Regions from separate parts of the Homo sapiens genome. Here region 2 is linked to region 1. The links are contacts of gene promoters, found by promoter capture Hi-C in human tissues and cell types (Jung and others, 2019). All regions are on one chromosome and are shown on one strand. Each heading gives the region's core, a stretch centred on a gene start or on the middle of the fragment in contact. The rest is flanking DNA. Distances are from core to core; before and after follow the strand shown.

Region 1 (2,912 bases), core at 43-2,542:
CATGTTCTTTTTTTTTTTTTTTTTTTTTGAGAAGGAGTTTTGTTCTTGCTGCCCAGGCTGGAGGGCAATGGCATGATCTCGGCTCACCGCAACCTCTGCCTCCTGGATTCAAGAGATTCTCCTGCCTCAGCCTCCCGGGTAGCTGGGATTACAAGCATGTGCCACCACGCTAATTTTGTATTTTTAGTAGCGACAGGATTTCTCCATGTTGGTCAGGCTGGTCTTGAACTCCCGACCTCAGATGATCCGCCCGCCACGGCCTCCCAAAGTGCTGGGATTATAGGCGTGAGCCACCGCACCTGGCCCTGTTCAGCATTTTCTAGACGGGAGTAGGTAAGCGATGTCAGTTCCACATAAAGTCCTGAGGACAGTCCTGATTACCTGTGCTTGATCAAAATCATCTTTCCGGGGGAAACCACACTTGAAGCTCCCATGTTTCAAGCCAACTCTAGTGTGAATTAGTCTCTTAACGAGCTAGACTTACACAAACCAGTTAACAGATTCATTTCACTTTGTAGTCCTCGAGGGATTGTTCCTGCTCCACTGCACAGACGAAAGCAATCCACTGAGACCACGGTACTGCGGTAATAAGACTTTGGCCAGGTGCGGTGGCTCAAGCCTATAATCCCAACACTTTGGGAGGCCAAGGCAGGCAGATCACTTGAGGTCAGGAGTTTGAAACCAGCCTGACCAACATGGCGAAACCCCGTCTCTACTAAAACTACAAAAATTAGCCAGGCGTGGTGGCGGGTGCCTGTAATCCCAGCTACTCGGGAGGCTGAAGCAAGAGAATCGGTTGAACCCGGGAAGCGGAGGCTGCAGTGAGCCGAGATCGCGCCGCCACTGCGCCGCAGCCTGGGCGACAGAGCCAGACTCCGTCTCAAAATAAAAAAAAAAAAAAAGAAAAAAAGAAAAAAAATGTGGAGCTAGCCCCACGGGTTTAGGACCCTTGACTCCTCGTTAGATGCTTCCCAGTATTTCAGAGCATCCCTTTGTTGGGCCCCCGGAAGGTCGGTCCCCTACTAGTAACGTGGGGTGAACGGGGGTACGTCTGCCGTAAAGTGGGAGGCGGCTGATGGGGACAAAGGCTGGGTCCCGAAGAAGCGCAGGGTCAGAAAAGTGCCCCCCAAAGCCGTCCCTGCACCCGAACCCTAGGATGGCCTCGCGCAACCGCAGGGCCGTCGGCACTGGTTTACGACCTGGGCGGGGCGGCCCGGACACTCTATGCAAATCAGCCCGGCGGACTCCGGAAGCAGCGCTCCCTCCGCTTCCGGCCGAGCCCGCGCCCCCCAGACCCCGAGAGCTCGCAGCTCCGGCCCGGCGGCGATGGCGCGGAGCGTGCGCGTGCTGGTGGACATGGACGGCGTCCTGGCCGACTTCGAGGCCGGCCTCCTGCGGGGCTTCCGCCGCCGCTTCCCTGAGGAGCCGCACGTGCCGCTGGAGCAACGCCGCGGCTTCCTGGCCCGCGAGCAGTACCGCGCCCTGCGGCCCGACCTGGCGGTAGGGGGCGCAGGGTCCCCACCCGGGCAGGGCCCGCTCGCTCCGTTCCGGGGGTCTCCCCCTTCTCTGTGAAGGGCGCAGAGCTCTCACCCTGGAACCCGCGGGCAGCGCACCCTGGGGAGGAGCCTTTGGGCGCGTGCCCCTGACCGACGCCCCCTCCGCCCCTCTGAGCTCGGGCCCGGAGCCCCCAGGAGCCTCCCTGCGGGTCCTCGCGGGAACGGGAAGCCGGGACCCAGAACTCTTGTCTTTCAGGATAAAGTGGCCAGTGTGTACGAAGCCCCGGGCTTTTTCCTGGACCTGGAGCCCATCCCGGGAGCCTTGGACGCTGTGCGGGAGATGAACGACCTACCGGAGTAAGGAGAGAGGGGGGCGGGCGGAGTCCTGGGCGGGCTCCTGGCTCCCGGCGGTAACCGCGTCCTTCTCCGCAGCACGCAGGTCTTCATCTGCACCAGCCCCCTGCTGAAGTACCACCACTGTGTGGGTGAGAAGGTGTGGCTGCCCCGCCCCTACTCCGCACGTGGAGCTGCCTAAATCCTGATTTTAAAAAGAAACCACCAGAAACCCAGAAGGTGGGGGTGGGGGGCTCTCAAGGGCTTAGAGCCAAGTCCCTATCCCTGAATTCCGGCTTCCATCAGGCCCTACTCACAGACTGTGTTTTCTACACAGTACCGCTGGGTGGAGCAGCACCTGGGGCCCCAGTTCGTAGAACGAATTATCCTGACAAGGGACAAGACGGTGGTCTTGGGGGACCTGCTCATTGATGACAAGGACACAGTTCGAGGTTGGACCCGTTATCCTTGGCAGCCTCCAGGCCTCTGGCCTGCCCGGATTAGGGAGAGGGAGTAATAATACCCATGACAGATGGCAGCGCGCTGTCTTTCACTGTCCTAGGCCAGGAGGAGACCCCAAGCTGGGAGCACATCTTGTTCACCTGCTGCCACAATCGGCACCTGGTCCTGCCCCCGACAAGGAGACGGCTGCTCTCCTGGAGTGACAACTGGAGGGAGATCTTAGATAGCAAGCGCGGAGCTGCGCAGCGGGAATGAGCGGGGATGCCGCGGGCAGCAGCTGGAGCTAAAGGAAGGGCAGGCCCACAGGGGCCACCGCAGAGCCGAGTCGGGGCGGCATCGTGCTGGTGCCTCTGGCCCCGTGGAGTGGAGCAGGCAGATACCGTTAAGCGCTGTGCTACCGGGCCCCAGGCCCAGCCACCCGGTACCTCCCGAGAGGCTGTCCCTGGACCCTGGCTGGCATGGAAATACAGTGGGAAAACCAGTCGGGACCTTTAATAAAAGACCTTGGCTTTCTAGTCTTCTAGGACCCTTTATTTGGGAACATAAAGGGACAGGCTCCCTGAGCGGGTGCTGATGAGCCCTTCCCTCCCCTCTGAGTCCAGTGGTCCCCTAATCTGCCCC
Region 2 (3,296 bases), core at 179-2,678, 650 kb before region 1:
AGGAGGTTGGCGGCCCTCGGCCATCTGCTGCCGCGAGGTGGGGCGCGGGGAGGCGGGAGGCCCGGCGGTGGGGCCAGGATCTGTTCCTCCCCCCGCAGCCCTGGGGGGCGGCCCGGGTGAGCGCGGCGGCCTTATCTTCGGGGCGTCTTTCTTAGGTGAAAGAAAATGGCCCGAACCAAGCAGACTGCTCGTAAGTCCACCGGTGGGAAAGCCCCCCGCAAACAGCTGGCCACGAAAGCCGCCAGGAAAAGCGCTCCCTCTACCGGCGGGGTGAAGAAGCCTCATCGCTACAGGTAGGTCGGGCGGGGGAACAATGGCCCGGCGGTGGCCGGCTTTGTGCGGCAGCGTCCGCTCACTCCTCCCCTGCTCGCTGCAGGCCCGGGACCGTGGCGCTTCGAGAGATTCGTCGTTATCAGAAGTCGACCGAGCTGCTCATCCGGAAGCTGCCCTTCCAGAGGTTGGTGAGGGAGATCGCGCAGGATTTCAAAACCGACCTGAGGTTTCAGAGCGCAGCCATCGGTGCGCTGCAGGTAAGACAAAGGCCTGGAGCCGGGGGAGGGCTGGGCGGTTTCCGCTCCCCGAGTGGGATTAATAGTGCGGCTCTCGTCCTCAACAGGAGGCTAGCGAAGCGTACCTGGTGGGTCTGTTCGAAGATACCAACCTGTGTGCCATCCACGCTAAGAGAGTCACCATCATGCCCAAAGACATCCAGTTGGCTCGCCGGATACGGGGAGAGAGAGCTTAAGTGAAGGCAGTTTTTATGGCGTTTTGTAGTAAATTCTGTAAAATACTTTGGTTTAATTTGTGACTTTTTTTGTAAGAAATTGTTTATAATATGTTGCATTTGTACTTAAGTCATTCCATCTTTCACTCAGGATGAATGCGAAAAGTGACTGTTCACAGACCTCAGTGATGTGAGCACTGTTGCTCAGGAGTGACAAGTTGCTAATATGCAGAAGGGATGGGTGATACTTCTTGCTTCTCATGATGCATGTTTCTGTATGTTAATGACTTGTTGGGTAGCTATTAAGGTACTAGAGTTGATAAATGTGTACAGGGTCCTTTTGCAATAAAACTGGTTATGACTTGATCCAAGTGTTTAACAATTGGGGCTGTTAAGTCTGACCATACATCACTGTGATAGAATGTGGGCTTTTTCAAGGGTGAAGATACAAGTCTTAACCACAGTGTAACTTACAGTTTCCTTTAAAAAAAAAAAAAGTAAACCTGGCAGCTATAGAATACACTATGTGCATTTATAATAGCTATTTTATATATTGTAGTATCAACATTTTTAAATTAAATGTTTTACATTCACAAGTGGTGGGGAGTCTTGTCATTAAGGTGTGTGTAATTTAGAGTCCAGTTGGTTTTCTTCTGACTGCACTTGTTCTCATAGTAGTAAAATGCTATGCGCATTTATACCTTGCATAAGTCCTCATTCTACCACATGTTAACCCTCTAGCTGATAATGCAAACACTAACTGGGGGATTTTATTTATAAGGGCTCTAGAAAAAACGAGTTATTCACACCAGCATCATCTTAACTAACATTCTGAACTAGTTAGTGCAGCTTTTCATTGTGTTGTGTGGTTGGTCTCATAACTAGGTTGAGTTTTTCTCCTCTGCTGAGGAAACAGTACCGAAGTTCTTTTTCTTGTGGCATTTGTATTATAAAAACTTGGTGTGGGGGAGGAGCACAAAACTCCAGCCCACTGAACCTCTGCCAATTAAGATGGTGTTGGGTTAGGTTACATCTGGTTACTGTCCTGGGAAAATCATTTTTATAGAGATGGCCTTCCAAGTGGTTTTAAAATTTACTGAAGTTTTTAGGTCAATTATGTATGTTGACTAAATTTACAAATAAACTTGTTTATCCAACTAAGTGTCCAAAACCTAAATTGAATGTACTAAGTTTTCACATGTCCCATTATCTAGGTCCTTGTATACTAATGTTTTGAACTTAGATCATTTCAGGTGTTGTTTGGTGGATAAAGGAACCTTTTATTTATAAAGATACTGTAGAAAGCATGTGAACAGCTCTCTGCTTGATTAAGATGCCATAATAGTGCTGTATTTGCAGTGTGGGCTAAGACAAAGTATATTAATAAGCTTTTCAGCCCCCCCACTCCCGTTCCGTAGTGTAGAAGCCCACAGGTGTAGAACTCAGTCTTAAACTTCAGTATGAAACCAGTTTCCTTGTGCGATGATGGCCACTAAAGCATAGTACGTGGATGTCAGTGAGACAGCATGAGAGCCAGCAGTCATCAAAGCGTTCCACGTTTGAAGTTAGCAACTGCTTAAAGTTATACCCCATTAAAATTGCTTTCTCAAAAGTTTGGGTTAGTTTCAAATGTGATATTTTGGAGGGAAGGTAAAGTAGGTATCTTTCAGGTCGTGATAATGAGCTCCTATGAAAGGATGCAATATAATGACCCGCTTTTCTAGAAAGTTCATAATCAGCTCTGGAACAAGCACACTTGATTCCTCACTGTGCTTCAGAATGAGATTAAGATCAGATGTTGGAACGTGCTATGCTGTAGCGTGTCTGGAAACAAAGTACACAAACCTGGCTACGGTGATGAGTTAGCTTCTGCTTACTACCTGTGACAACCCAAGTGGGTGACACTAGTGAACCTTCTCCAGTCTGCAGGCTGGCATAGAAGGCTCTTAGATTATATTGGGCAGCTTGCAATCTGCCGAAGCAGTGACTTGCATTTCCACACTTGGCTTGAGCACTCAACCCAGAAGGCGAAGATAGCTTTTGGTTGTAGGCGGCTTCCTGTATGGGATATCCCTCGGTAAGGGTAAAGGAGCAGAGGCAAAGGAGAAAAGCAGAAGTTGCAGCTGATGCAGGTATCCTATGCCCTTGATGGATGAGACTAAAATAAAATTTTTGAAGTTAAGATTTTCTCATTTCTCAATGGTTTTCATTCAAATGATAATGTCTTTCAAAAAGTTTGGGGCAATGTCCAAAAAGCACTGACTTCTGATTCATCTGGGGCTGGGACGTGCGCATTCAATAATAAGGAAGCTCCCTATTGAGGTGACCTCAGTGACAGTTGGCCCAGGACAGTGCCAGTCTGTGCCTGCTGAAGTGGTGTATTTATTTATTTTGAGACGGAGTCTTGCTCTGTCACCAGGCTGGAGTACAGTGGCGCGATCTTGGCTCACTGCAACCCCCGCCTCTCAGGTTCCAGTGATTCTCCTGCCTCAGCCTCCTGAGTTGCTGGGACTACAGGCAAACACCACCATGCCCAGCTAATTTTTGTATTTTTAGTAGAGACGGGGTTTCA

What was found. The method cuts DNA at HindIII sites, captures the fragments that hold promoters and counts their contacts. A contact is called where the count stands out against the background at its distance.
Region 2: a fragment that was not itself captured here is called in contact with the fragment with the promoter of NT5C in region 1 in 1 of the 25 tissues and cell types used here (dorsolateral prefrontal cortex).

Annotation. Positions count from the first base shown.
Region 1 is chr17:75,130,122-75,133,033 of GRCh38, reverse strand. It overlaps NT5C (5', 3'-nucleotidase, cytosolic), which reads left to right and starts at 1,292. Exons shown (of 5, transcript NM_014595.3): 1 at 1,292-1,500; 2 at 1,753-1,853; 3 at 1,929-1,989; 4 at 2,167-2,281; 5 at 2,392-2,806. The coding sequence starts at 1,327. The coding sequence ends at 2,546. ARMC7 (armadillo repeat containing 7) reads right to left here. Exons shown (of 3, transcript NM_024585.4): 3 at 2,762-2,912. RefSeq lists silencers at 1,130-1,699, 2,069-2,273 and an enhancer at 2,310-2,399. The HindIII fragment of the contact is 10,965 bases long and covers 1-2,912 here.
Region 2 is chr17:75,776,044-75,779,339 of GRCh38, reverse strand. It overlaps H3-3B (H3.3 histone B), which reads left to right. Exons shown (of 4, transcript NM_005324.5): 2 at 156-293; 3 at 377-530; 4 at 617-2,906. The coding sequence starts at 166. The coding sequence ends at 745. Among named protein-coding and RNA genes, the nearest start is that of H3-3B, 2.1 kb to the left of the region's middle. RefSeq lists silencers at 1-240, 3,172-3,221 and enhancers at 1-473, 2,752-2,841. The HindIII fragment of the contact is 5,666 bases long and covers 1-3,296 here.